2 separate regions of the Homo sapiens genome follow, and region 1 is linked to region 2. Evidence: promoter capture Hi-C in human tissues and cell types (Jung and others, 2019). All regions are on one chromosome and are shown on one strand. The core of a region is centred on a gene start or on the middle of the fragment in contact, and the rest is flanking DNA. Distances in the headings are between cores, read along the strand shown.

Region 1 (6,877 bases), core at 3,550-6,049, 91 kb before region 2:
TCTTAAAAACTTCTGACTGCAAATTTTAAATTAAGCAAATTTTCTACTTTATGGGTGCCAGAACCATTTCACCCAGGTTAGCTGCAGACAAGAGCAGAGCTTTCAATGGAAATTTTAAATAAGTGGGATCAAGATCCTAAAGCATTTCTTCGAAGAACTGTAAAAGGAGATAAAACATGGCTTTACCAGTATGATCTTGAAGTCAAAGCAGAATTAAAGCAATGGCTACCAAGAGGTGGAAGTGGCAGTCAAAGAAAACATGGGGGTTGGGCGCAGAGCCTCAATCCTGCAATCCCAGCACTTTGGGAGCCCGAGGTGGGCAGATCACCTGAGGTCAGGAGTTCGAGGCCAGCCTGGCCAATGTGGCAAAATCCTGTTTCTACTAAAAATGTAAAAATTAGCCAGGTATGGTGTTGAGCACCTGTAACCCCAGCTACTTGGGAGGTTGAGGCAGGAGAACTGCTTGAATCCGGGAGGCGGAGGTTGCAGTGAGCCAAGATTGCACCACTGCACTCCAGCCTGAGCATCAGAGCAAGACTCCAGCTCAAAAAAAAAAAAAAAAAAGAAAAAAAAGAGAAGAGAAAAGAAAAAGAAAATGTGGGCTAGTTAAGAGCAAAGATAATGGCAAAAGTGTTTTGGGATGCTCAAAGCATTTTGCTTCTTGGCTTTCTGTAAGATCAAAGAACAATAACATCTACCTATTATGAGAGTGTTTTGAGAAAGTTAGCCAAAGCTTTGGCAGAAAAATGCCTAGGAAAGCTTCATCATAGAGTCCTCCTCTGCCACAAAGCTCCTGCTTATTCCTCTCAACAAACAAGTGAAATTTTGTAAGTTTAAATGGGAAATCTTTAAGCATACGCCCTCCAGTTCTGATTTGGCTACTTCTGACTTCTTTTCCCCACCTAATTTTAAACAATCTTTAAAGGACACCCATTTTTATTCAGTTAATAATATAAAAAAGACTGCACTGACATGGTTAAATTCCCAGGACCCTCAGTTCTTTAGGGATGGACTAAACTGCTGGTATCATCACTTACAAAATTGTTTTGACCTTGATGGAATTTATGTTGGGAAATAAAATTTATATTTCTTATTTTTACTGTTTGTTGCTTCCACTTTCCATGAACTTTTTGAAGTCTTCTCATACCTTTATTTTTATGCATGTTTTCTTAGAACTTATTTATAATAACTACTTTGAAGTCTTTGTCTGCTAAGTTCAACATCTGGGCCTTCTCTAAGGCTGTTTCTGTTGCCTGCTTTTATGGGTCATATTTCCCTGTTTCTTTTAATGTCTCACAACTTTTTACTGAAAACTGGACATTTTAGATCACATATCATAGCAATTCTGAATGCTGATTCTCTGGGGCTTGTTGTTTCCTTCGTCATTTGTTTAATAGCTAAGCTTAAGTAGTTCTTCAAAGTCTATTGCAGTGTGCAGCTTCTAATGTCCCTGCTTAGATTTTTTTCCCTTATTCTTATCTTTTTTTTTTTTTTTTTCCTGACAGAGTCTCACTCTTTCTCGCCCAGGCTGGAGTGCAATGGCACGATCTTGGCTCATTGCAACTTCTGCTTCCCATGTTCAAGTGATTCTTCCAGCTCAGCCTCCCGAGTAGCTGGGATTACAGCCACTCGCCATCATGCCCAGCTAATTTTTGTGCTTTTGTAGAGATGGTGTTTCACCATGTTGGCCAGGCTGGTCTCGAACTCCTGACTTCAGGGGATCTGCCGCCCCCGCCCTGCCACTTCGCCTCCCAAAGTGCTGGGATTACAGGCATGAGCCACCAAACCTGGCCCCCTTATTTTTATCTTTTAGCCTGGCTAGATAGGGGTTTTCTCTAGGTCAGCATAAGCCATTTACTAGTCAAAGGTTATGCCTCAGTGTCCTTAGTCTGTTAGGTTTTTTTACCCTTTACTGTCGGAAATGATATGTGTGATGTGGAGGCTCTTATCACAGTTCAGGGAGCTTACTACTTTTCTCCCGTGTTCACCTAGGAACTAGCAGCCTGGTGGTTCTCTCTCTGATTGCTTCTTGGAGGATGCAGCCTTGGGTATGCACATAGTCTTCCAGACTTTCAGGGATGACTATGATTTTATTTTTAAGCTTGGCTGTCTTGGAGTCACTCCTGCGCCAGAATAACATATTGTTCAGTCAGTTGTTAATCAGAAGTTGTGCTTATGCCCTTTTTACCAATAAAATTTCCACCCTATGTTGATGGGCCTGTGGGTGACTTGAGAAATGCTATGAAATCTGCCCCACATCCTGCTCTGATTTTTCCCAAGTGAGTGCAGCCTAGCACAGCCTTTCTGATTGGACTTGACTGTATGCATAGAAGGGCTCTTCTTGGCTGTCTCTTTCCGTGGTCTCCCTATTAAACTTCTGAATACTCTGCTATTTTGTTTGTATACGCACATACCAGCTGCCTCTTCATTGCTCTCCCAACAAGATTACCATTATTTTTAAGAATGCTCTTACGTATGGAGTTCACCCTTTGTTCCAAATAAAGTCAGTCTCCTCAGGCAGAGCTATGGTGTTTTGCTCTTTGTGGCCTGCCTTTCCCACTAGGTAGAGCACCTGTGCCACTGCACTGAAGCTGGAACAGAGATCCTCTTTCCCCAGAGTGACATCCCTGCTCCATGACTAGGTACTGGGGTTGGGGAGTGTGGAGACCCCTTATCTTCTCATCTTACCTCTCCCAGCATGTAACCTCTCACTTGCAAGTGAACTGAGGTGTAGGAAATCAGTCCTCCAGTATTCTTGACTTGCTGTGCCTACAGCAGAGCTTCCACCTTATAACTGGGGGTTGGATGACACTTCTTGGCATACTCATGTGGAACAGAACTTCTGCAGACTGGGGCTTAGTGGAGTGAGAAATACTAGCATCCTGTCTTTTTTAGGGTGAAACCATAGCCTCAAACTAGGATGTAGAGAGAGATGGAGCCCTGTCTTGGCTGCTCATATACTGGGTAGAGTTTCCATAATAAGGAAGAAGATTAATGGGCAAATCGCAGCTCAAATGCCACAGACTCTTGCTATTATGATTGAAATTTTAAAGATTTTCTTGAATTAATGTTTCTTATTTGCTGTATGGCCCTTACAACACTTTCCAGACACTTTAAATGATGGATATTTTAAATAATTTTCTCTAATTCGATTGTTGTTTTGCTGGGGAAAGAGTCCACCAAACTTGTTATTCCATTCTCCCAGAAGTCCCACCTCTTAATTCCTCTTTATATATTCACCATAATATCTCTTTGCACCTAATATAGAAGTGAAAAGCACAAGCTCCAGTGTAACCAGCCTGAATTCAAGTCTCTAGTCTGCCACTTGTTAGCTGTGTTACTTAGCACATGTTATTAAACTAATAGTAGCTACCTCAGGGGATTGTGGTGAGAGTAAATGAGCTAATCCATTGAAAATGCCTAGCATGGTATTTGTCTCAGAGTTAGGCATCCCCTAAAGGATGGCTGTCATGTTCATCTTGGTAACCCTGCATGATGACAGATTGCCACAAGGGGGCACCAAGAACCATGTATAATGATGAAGGACTAGAGGGATTCAGTTAGGTCGCTCTAGCAGTTACATTTGTAGGCTCACGTTTACATTTGTAAGCCAGCCAGAGGTAGGTATTTTCCCAGAAAACAAAAGAAAGAGGTTGAAGGCATGTTATAAACATTGCCATACCATTTCCTACAGAAGATGGAAATTCAGGATCCTTCCTAAACATCACCAAGCCATTTCCCCAACTTGGAAGCTTAGCTAAGCAAAAGGAACTATGCTGTGAAAGGGGGAGTGTCTCTTGATTTGCAAGGTACTTTCCTGTGTACAAGGCACTGTTCCATGAGTTGAGGGGATTCAAAGGCTCCCTTAAGGAGCAATCAACTGTAGTAAGTTGGCATTTACTTATTGAGTGTCTGCCATGTGCTAAGGATTCTCAATAGCTTAAGGCATCATTATGCCATTCCTTTTGTTTTTATTGAAGAGTTCCCCAGAGGCTTGGCTGAGGATTTAGCCCATGTCCAGAGGATGATAAAAAGTCAACAGACAATCTGGAGCAGGGAGAGGACAACTTAATGAAGAATGAATTTAGCATGATTGATTGATTGATTTTTATTTTATTTTATTTTTTTTTGAGACAAGGTCTCACTCTGTCACCCAGGCTGGAGTGCAGTCCTGCGATCTCAGCTCACAGCAACCTGTCTCCCAGGTTCGATAAATTCTTCTGCCTCAGCCACCTGAATAGCTGGCATTACAGGAACACACCACCACACCTGGCTAATTTTTACATTTTTAGTAGAGACGGGGTTTTGCCACGTTGACTAAGCTGGTCTCGAACTCCTGACCTCAAGTGATCCACCTGCCTCGGCCTCCCAAAGTGCTAGGATTACAGGTATGAGCCACTGCGGCCAGCCAGAATGAATTTAGCTCGATTTATTTAGAGTGGAGTGCAGGAAAGAAGAGCGTCAAAGGCCAGGGATGCCCATGGCAATGTTGAAACAGATTGATGTGAAGTCAAACACTATTAAAGCAGAAATTCCTAATATAATTAAATTTTAAGAGAAATCACAATAGTTAACAGAAATAAAAATGAAGCTGTTGTTCTGGCTGAAACAAGAGTAGCAAGCCTGGGTCTCCATCTACTAAGCTGCTTTCTCACCTTCTAACAGTCCAGAAAATGGTAGTTTTTGAAAACGGAATAGAATGTTGGAAGAATCTTGGGTGCATCTCTGTGTAATACAGTTTGAAACCCACTCTAATGGTTCAAACAGTAAGGTGAATGGATGAAGACCCAGGATAAAGGATGGTTGTGAGGATGGAGAAAATGAGGCAGAAGGATGATCCAACGCCTTCACCCCAGCTGCCTCAGGGCACGCTCGGCTCAGTCACAGCTGCATCCTTTTCACTTTGCATCCTTCTTTGCAGTATTTCTCCTGTTTTTCTTCTCATTCTGTCCATTGCTTCATGCTAGTCTAGGATCAGGGTCTGAGCCCAATTTGTGGCATTAATCGTGTTTCTTGTCTTTAGTTATAATTCATATTTGCCTCTCCCCTCCTGGAAATAACCCAGTCTTCTCATGGACCTGGGAAGCCACTGTGTTGTTAGGATTTTTTAGCTTTTGTGAAAATGAGAAAAAGAAAGAATGAAGAGCATCTAGCAACTGATTATATATATCAGTTTGAAATACATATATGTATGTTTATACACACCTGCACGCGTGTGCACACACACACACACACACACACACACATTACTTGCCTGGGATTAAATAGCTAACTAGGAAGTGGCAGAGCCAGGGCTTAAACTGACATCTGTCTGACTCCAAAGCTCTTATGCTTGGTATTTATGGATTCTAAGCTTCTTTGCCTGTTTTCCAGACCATCCATATTTGAGGCCCCTCTAACAATCCTATCCTATTTCACATTTCTAGTCAATAGACATCTACCAACTTGAATGCAGTTAGGAAGCCTTTTGTACACAGCATTATTGTACATTCTCAGGTCAATATCTTAGTTTGAGGATTACACTTTATTCCATTAAATTCAGCAAATATTTATTGGGTGATTACTGTCTATCAGGTACTGAATAATAGAAAAAAATACAGAGAGAGATTAACTGATTTCAAAGCACTTTCATACTTTATCTCATTGAATCTGCATAGAAACTTCATAAAGTAGTTATGGCAGGTAAAATTATCCCAATATTCCAGATAAGCAAACTAAGGTTCAGACAGTTTGACTGTCTAATGTCACACAAATCTTACCAATTCACCAAGGTCCAGCTAAGAATCTCCTGCACTAAGTCTTCTTTCAAGAAGTTATGGCAGTGATGTGGCTCTATAGTTAGCAGCTTCCTGATTTGGTTTCTGGCAGTAACATCAGCAGCTCTCCTAAGCAGAGTGATCTTAGGGGCTGGGAGCTGTTCTTAGAAACTTAACTAGGAACCTGATCCTTGGACCTTCCCAACCATTAGTAATTCATTTAATACCTGGGAATAATTTCTTAGTTTTTAAAACCGTCTGCAGTGGTTTCTAAGGTCTATAATTGGACCCTAAATGGTAAAATTACTAGCTAAAAATAATGAAGAAAAAAAGAAATAAAAATAACCATTATCAAGGTCATTCTTCCCTCATTCAGAAAAAAAAGAACTGCAGGAGAGGAAAGATAGCTGTGTAGTTAAATACCATTTCTGCTCAGTGACTTGCAGAAAAGTGTTGACTTTGTATCCTGTAATCTACCCTCCTCATCCAGTTTCTATCTAGGGTATCTCTGATAGAGAACCTTTTGCACAATCCCAAGAGCAGGCACCTCTTTCATTTATAGGCAATCACATATTAAGCCAAAATGTGTCTCCCTGTCACTTGTACCCACGGGTACTACCTATCTCCATCTTTGAGAGCTAGATAAAATTGCACTTCTTTTTATAGAAGCCCTTTCAAAAATATTTTTGACCCCTATCAGACCAGCTAAAGTTTTTCTTTCCAACCGGGTATGGTGGCTCACATCTGTAACCTGAGCACTTTGGGTGTGCATGATATATCTTTTTCTATCTTTTTACTTTCAATTTGTTTATGTCTTTGAATCTGCAGTTTGCCTCTTGCAGACAGCATGTAGTTGGATCCTGTGATTTTTAGTTTTTTTAAATTCATTCTGCCAATCTCTGCCTTTTGATTGGAGTGTTTAATCTACTTATATTTAATATAATTACTGATAAGGTAGAATTTACTTAGGCCATTTTGCTATTTGTTTTCTATACAGCCTATCTTTTTTATTTTTCTGTTCTTCAATTGTTGCCTTGTTTTGTGTTACACAGATATTTTCTAGTGTACCATTTATATTTCCCATGTCATGTCTTATACTATATATATTTTTAGTTATTTTC
Region 2 (6,504 bases), core at 51-2,550:
GCTCTCCCCTCCCACCAGAAAAAGTGCACCGGGAAAGTGTCAACGCTGGAGGCGTGCACGGCTTCCCGCCGAGAGACCACTCCCCCCACCGGCCCCAGCCCCCACCCCGCTTTCTCAGCTACCCTTCACCAGAAGAAAACGAGTCTTCTCTCACACCTCGTGAGTTCCAAATACTAACCAGTAACAGAAGCTGTAACACAACCCCAAAACCCAGGCTACGCAGTGAAACCCCCTCCCTCAAGCCGACCCCCGCCCCCTGCCCCGCACAGAACCAGGCCCCAGGGTTTCTCCTCCCCAGCCCGGGAGGCTCTGCCCTCCGCAGGCGGGCTCGCTCTGCGTGCGGGTGTGCCTCGTTCTAGGGAACGATCCTGACCTGTCAAGTTACACCTCCCACCCGCGCCGCAGGAGCGGGACCCAGGGAGGCCGGGTGCCCGAAGCTCTTTTAAATGTAGCTCAGGAGGGGTCCCTCCCCTTTCATGGAGGAGGAGGAAGGGGAGGAAGGGTGCTGGGTGAGCTCCTCAATTTCATCAGCGCGGGGCCGGGGCGCCGCGGGACAGGGCGGGAGCGGGGTTGGGGGATGCTCCAGCGGGCGTGCCCGGCCGCGGAGGGGGACCCCCGGAGCGTCGTCCCTTCCCGGAGCGGGGCCGCGGCAGCGCTCACCGTCTTCGTGGTGAAGGGGGAGCTTCAGCGGGTTCTCCAGCAGGGACCTGAGCACGCCGTAGGGAGGCGGGATAAAGGTGGGATTCAGGGGGAGCGGTCGGGACATTTTCTCCATCGCGATGCACTCAAATTTTTTCCCCTTAAAAAAAGAAATAAGAAAGAAACAACCGCCCCCTAAAATGTTGCTGAGCTTTTCCTCCGTCCTTTGCCAAAAGTACTCGCTCTCAAGGCGGTGGAGAAAAGGGAAGAAAAAAATTACTTATATCTTTATAAATACATCTGCATAAAAATATATATTAAAAAAAAACTTTCGGGTTTCCAGTGCAGACGGTCCCAGGAGAGCGCGCCAAGTGCCCGCGGGCTCCCCGGCGACGTGCAGGATGCTCTCACCTGCCTCGAACCCCTCGTTTTGCAAAATGTTCAAAATTGAAAAAAAGAAAGAAAAAAAAATGTCGACGGCTGCAGAAGGGCAGAAGACACCGCGCCGACCCCAGCCCCTAGTGCCAGCACCGGAGGCGGTGCGCCGTCCCACCCCACCCCCCTCCCCGCGCCGGCGGCCGCTGCTCCCCAGCGCTCCGCGGCCCCGCAGCGCCGGGCTCAGCGCATCCGGCCGCCCATGTGCCGCGGCCCTGACAAGAGTGACGTCAGGGCCCGCACCTCGCGCCCATAGGCGTGCGGGGGCGGGGCCACGCGCGGCACCGCCCGCCTGGCCCGCTCGCCCCGCCGCCGCGTGTTTAGCGTCGCCGCTCGCGCCGATTTTCGGGGACCTTGCAGCACTGGCTGGTTGCAGGGGAGCAGGTGCCAGATTCCCTGGGCCATCAACTTAGGCTTAGATTTTTTTTTTTTTTTTTGGTCTGGGTGGGAAGAGGAATGAGAAATTTATATCCATAGTTTTCAAGCTGGGAATAACCTGAGGAGTTTTAAAAAAATCGCGATACCCAGGCCGCATCCCAGATCAATTAGATCAGAACCTCTGCGGTGCTATCAGGGCGTCCATAATTTTTAAAGCTCCCCAGGTGGTTCCAAAGAGTAGCCAAGTTTGAGATGATTGGTTTAGATCGGATGGAAGGTAACGACCCTTCTCAATATTTCTCCTGGCCCCGGCCAAGCTTAGCGTCTTCTTTCTTGCCCAGTTTCCACCACCACCAAAAAATAACTACTTCCTATAAGTCCGAATGGGATGCAAAAAGCAGAGCGGGAAGCGGAGGACTGAGCTGCTGGGCACTGTTTCCCACGCTGCAGAGAGGTGTTAACGGTGGGGGGAGAGGGGGGGTAGACATTTGCCTGAAACGGAAAGAGGCGGGAGAGACACAGACACACTGAACGGGATTTTAGGAATATTTACTCTGGGTGAATACAGGTGATTGCGCTTGGGTCAAGTTATTAGGTTTGCACGGTGATTAAAATAATTTTGTAAAGTATCCCCTAAGGGGGCTTCGGCTTTCCTTGCTGTTACAGCAGCTGCAGCGTCTCCCTCTGCCAGTTTGACCTCGTGGCACCCACGGTCCCCGAGATCTGCGTGCGACCCCCTGTGTGATAACTCCCTTCCCGCCTGGGGTGGTGCGGGCGCTGGCGTGCAGCCGCGACGCCCCCTGCAGAGCTCCGCGGGGGGCCAGGCAGGTTCTTCCCCTCCCTCCTTACCTCTCCTTACTAAGACCCTAGTCTTCGATCTGGGGAAGGGGCTGCAAGAACGAATGGGCACAAATGAAAGAAAACCGTTTTTCAGTGGGACGTAAAGGCCTTTGTGACCCCAGGCTGAGTCGCTGGGGAAGGATGTGGTGGTGTCTTGATGGGGTTTACTTCCCCAGGAGAGGGTTGTAAGAGAGGAGGCGCCTGAAACCCCAGAGATCAGGAGCGGCGGCGCAGCGGGGTTCAGAGTTCCCTGGCAGGGTGATTCCGGCAAGTGCCTTTCTGCCCTGAGCTGTAGGTTCTTCATAAAAGGACACGTAATCTAGTGACCTCTACTTCCTCACTCTAAAATTATGGCAAAAGGGTAAGGCAACATTCTAAGTGAGATGTTGTTGCAGTGTTTCAGGTTTCAGACGAATTCCAGAAACAGCAAACTTTTAGTTAATGCCACATGCATTTATTGAGCACCACGGTATGTATGCCAGCGACTATGCGGGGGCTAGTGAAAAAAGATGAATAAAACATAATTTTAACCTTCAAGAACTCATCGTTTAGGGTTTGGCATATAAGCAAATAATATAAAATAGGCTTAAAAGAACAAAAATGGATAGATGGAGGTGACAGGGGCACTTACATTATTAGGAAAGGGATTCTAGAGAAGGTGCCTGAGCTGGGCGTGGAGGTAATAGTCTCTCGTGAACGGTCTGAATCCATCAATTATATTATATTGTTTTTTTAAAAAATAAAAAAGGGACCTCATCTCCGCTATCCTTTTGGAGACAGAGGCTATTTCCCTGTCTTGAGTTCCTTACATCCCTGTAAGTCCATAAACTGGCAGGACTGAGAGCATCCTCTCAGCCTGGTTAGAAATCTGTTAGATTGCAGATTCCAGGTGCATGAAAGATGCGTTACCTAAGCTTTGTGTAACAGTCCACTGACATTACTCAGCACGCCCAAAGTGCTCCACCTGCTCATGATTCTCCGCATGTCCTCACTTCCCCATGTTTCCAGACATGAAACTCTTACCAGGTCAAGTAATCTGGTTTCCCAGGGTAATCTTCTCCTTACCACCTGACAGAACCAAATACTGTGGCTTGGAAATTGCATTTCTCATTGCAAGTGGATAAACTGGCGTTCTGGTTGATCAAGCAGTTTCTTGGGAATTTGGTTCATTTAATTTAATTTCCCTGAGCCTGATCAACATGTCACGGACCAGATTGAGGACCAGCCCCTTAGACCATGGTGACTCCCTCTCACTTCTCTCCATCCTTCTCTAACTTCAAAGGTATTTCTTAGAGCCTCAAAAATTATAAGCATTGGCTAATCTTCAATCTAGCCCCATTCCTTAACAAGATAAATGAAATTGGTACATCTTTTCTACTCTGGCCATTTGTAAATGTTATTTTCTTTTATTTTTTTAACAAACCATGAACATCTTTCTTTCTCTTTCTCTCTCTCTCTTCCCCAGAAGCAGTTGTGGATGGCTGCTCAAGAGGAAGGAGAGGGATAGAAGAAACCAAAGGTTATATTGGTTGGGTAGTAAGACCCTCTGAATTCCACAGGTTAATTCTCAAATGGACATATCCCTAATGAGCACTAACCCCAATCTGCACATATGCCCAGAGATAACTGCCGCTCACAAGTGCTTAGCACTTGTCCACTTACAGAGCCCTTCCATATGTGTCATATCACATACTTCTGACAATTCCATGAGGAAAGCAATGATGCTGATTATTGATTGCTGTGTAACAGATCACTCCAAAACCTAGTGGCTTAAAACAACAATCATTTTATTATTTCTCATTATTCTGCAATCTAGGTTAGGCTCAGCTGGGATACTGGGCTGGCTGGCCTTCTCTTTCTCTTTACATGGCCTCCTTACACCATAGATTCATTTTGCTTGTTTTATAATTTCATACAAGTGAAATCATACTGTATATACTCTCTTGTGTGTAGCTTCTTTCACTCTGCACAGTATTTTAGACATTCACCAATGTTGCATATAGTTCATTTCTTTATATTAGTGAGTAGTATTCCGCTCTATGAATATACAAAAGTTTATCTGTTGTATTGGTGGACATTTGGGTTGTTTCCAGTTTTTAGGCATGAATAAAATGTTTATGAGAATTCTTGTCTGAGTTCTTTTGTGAACACATGCTTTCCTTTCTCTTGGATAAACAAATAGGAGTAGGATTACTGGATCATAGAAAAGATGTGTGTTTTACTTTAGAAGAAGCTCTTCTATAGTCTTCTGAAGCAGGTAAATTGTCCTGCATTTCCAGCAGCAGTATATGAGAGTTCTGGTTGTTCTAGCGCCTCACCAATATTTAGTGGTGTCAGTTTCTCTTAAAACTTGTAGCCATTCTAGTGGGTGGATAGTCAGTTCTCAATGGACCTTTCATCTGAATTTTCCTGATGAAAAATGATGGCATGTGCTACTTCATGTGCTTCTTAGTAGCTTGTACATCTTCCTGTTCAAGTCTCTTGCCCATTTTTGAATTTGGTTATCTTTTGATTACTGAATTTTAGGAGTTCTTTTATATACTTTGGATAGTCTCTTTGTCAGATGTTTGTGTGTTGTGAATATTTTCTTCCAATCTGTGGCTTGCTGATTAGTTTTTATAATAACGTCTTTCCATGAGCAGTTTTTAATTTTGACAAAGTTCAATTTATCAATTTGTTTTTCATGATTATTGCTTGCTATGAACTAGGAAACTTTTGACTACTCCTGAGTTCTGGAGATATTCTCCTATACTTTCCTTTATAACTTTCATAGTTTAAGCTTTTTCATTTAGCCTTATGACCCATTTCAAATTAATTTTTGTGTATACTATGAGGTAAGGATTAAGGTTGGTTTTACTCATGGGGATATCCAATTGTTTTAGACTTTCATTTCCCCCTTGAATTGTTTGTTGTTGTTGTTTGTTTTGTTTTGTTTTGAGATGGAGTCTCGCTCTTGTTGCCCAGACTGGAGTGCAATGGCGTGATCTCAGCTCACCGCAACCTCCGCCTCCTAGGTTCAAGCAATTCTCCTGCCTCAGCCTCCTGAGTAGCTGGGATTACAGGCACCAGCCGCCACATCCGGCAATTTTTATTAGTATTTTTAGTAGCGATGGGGTATTAGTATTTAGTATTAATATTTTTAGTAGCGACGGGGTTCTCCATGTTGGCCAGGCTGGTCTCGAACTCCCGACCTCAGGTGATCCGTGGACCTTGGCTTCCCAGAGTGCTGGGATTACAGGCGTGAGCCACCGCGCCCGGCCCCCCCTTGAATTCTTTTGATGTTATTGCTGACAATTATTTGACTGTGTATTTGTGGGTGACCCAAACTTTTGATCCCGAGGAAAAATGGGTATTTTATCACTAAGGACAGAATAATGCTATTTCTATGTTCTTTCTAAGTTTCCTGGGATCTGATTCATATCCAGCAACAGAAAAAAGTTCACCAAAGTTTACGGCTAAAATGAATGCCTCACTTTCAGTGGCTCATTCAGTTTGTTGACAAGACCTCTACAAAGTTGTCCACATTAAGTTAGATAAGAGCCAAAAGCAGAGGCATTATCCAATTTGCTTTTTTGTGTATGAGCAAATAATTAAGCCTATTGGATGTCTTTGGTTACAACTAGTAATGCCTCAGTGCTCCTGTCTTAACCTGCATGTGCTTAAACAGTAAGTCAAAACTAAACCTCTTTGTTAGAGAAATTCGAACAAACAAATACTAGATAAAGAACATTTGACAAGCCACTGAAAAACCCTTCAGTTGGCCCTTCAAGGAGAAAGGAATAGCAGAAGCTCTGGAGGTTTAAAACTGTCCTAAAAATAGGAATGACCATAGAAGAAACGTTCCCCAGAATCAACTTCTTAAAGGATGCCAGCACAGCTCTCCTCTGAAGTTCTGGAAATCAGCCTTTTGCCCAGCCAGTGGTTGCCACCTGTCCTGTCATTTCAGAGGTTTTGATAGTGAGATTGGGTGGGGAGTCCTTTGTGCAGCCCGGTGGGGGCAGACGTGAGGCAGCCATTTTGGCACCAGCCTTGCAGGTCTGCAGAGAGAACTTTGCAGTGTAAGCAGTGTTTATGTTTCAGATTCCCAGTGGGTGTGAAGCCTTGTTGAGCACACAATGCCTGCCACTGTAGCCTACTTGGGGCTAGGAGCCTGGGGTGGATGGAGACGAGCACTGTGGTTATGAAGGGCTTTATAGTCTAGTGAGCCAAACC

What was found. Contacts are between HindIII fragments. The study calls those that stand out against the background at their distance.
Region 1: a contact is called between a fragment that was not itself captured here and the fragment with the promoter of HLF in region 2, in 2 of the 25 tissues and cell types used here (dorsolateral prefrontal cortex and hippocampus).

The regions. Positions count from the first base shown.
Region 1 is chr17:55,353,551-55,360,427 of GRCh38, reverse strand. No RefSeq gene overlaps it. Among named protein-coding and RNA genes, the nearest start is that of MMD, 65 kb to the left of the region's middle. The HindIII fragment of the contact is 3,744 bases long and covers 2,928-6,671 here.
Region 2 is chr17:55,259,756-55,266,259 of GRCh38, reverse strand. It overlaps HLF (HLF transcription factor, PAR bZIP family member), which reads right to left and starts at 1,300. Exons shown (of 4, transcript NM_002126.5): 1 at 661-1,300. The coding sequence starts at 775. RefSeq lists a silencer at 1,177-1,496. The HindIII fragment of the contact is 14,198 bases long and covers 1-2,488 here.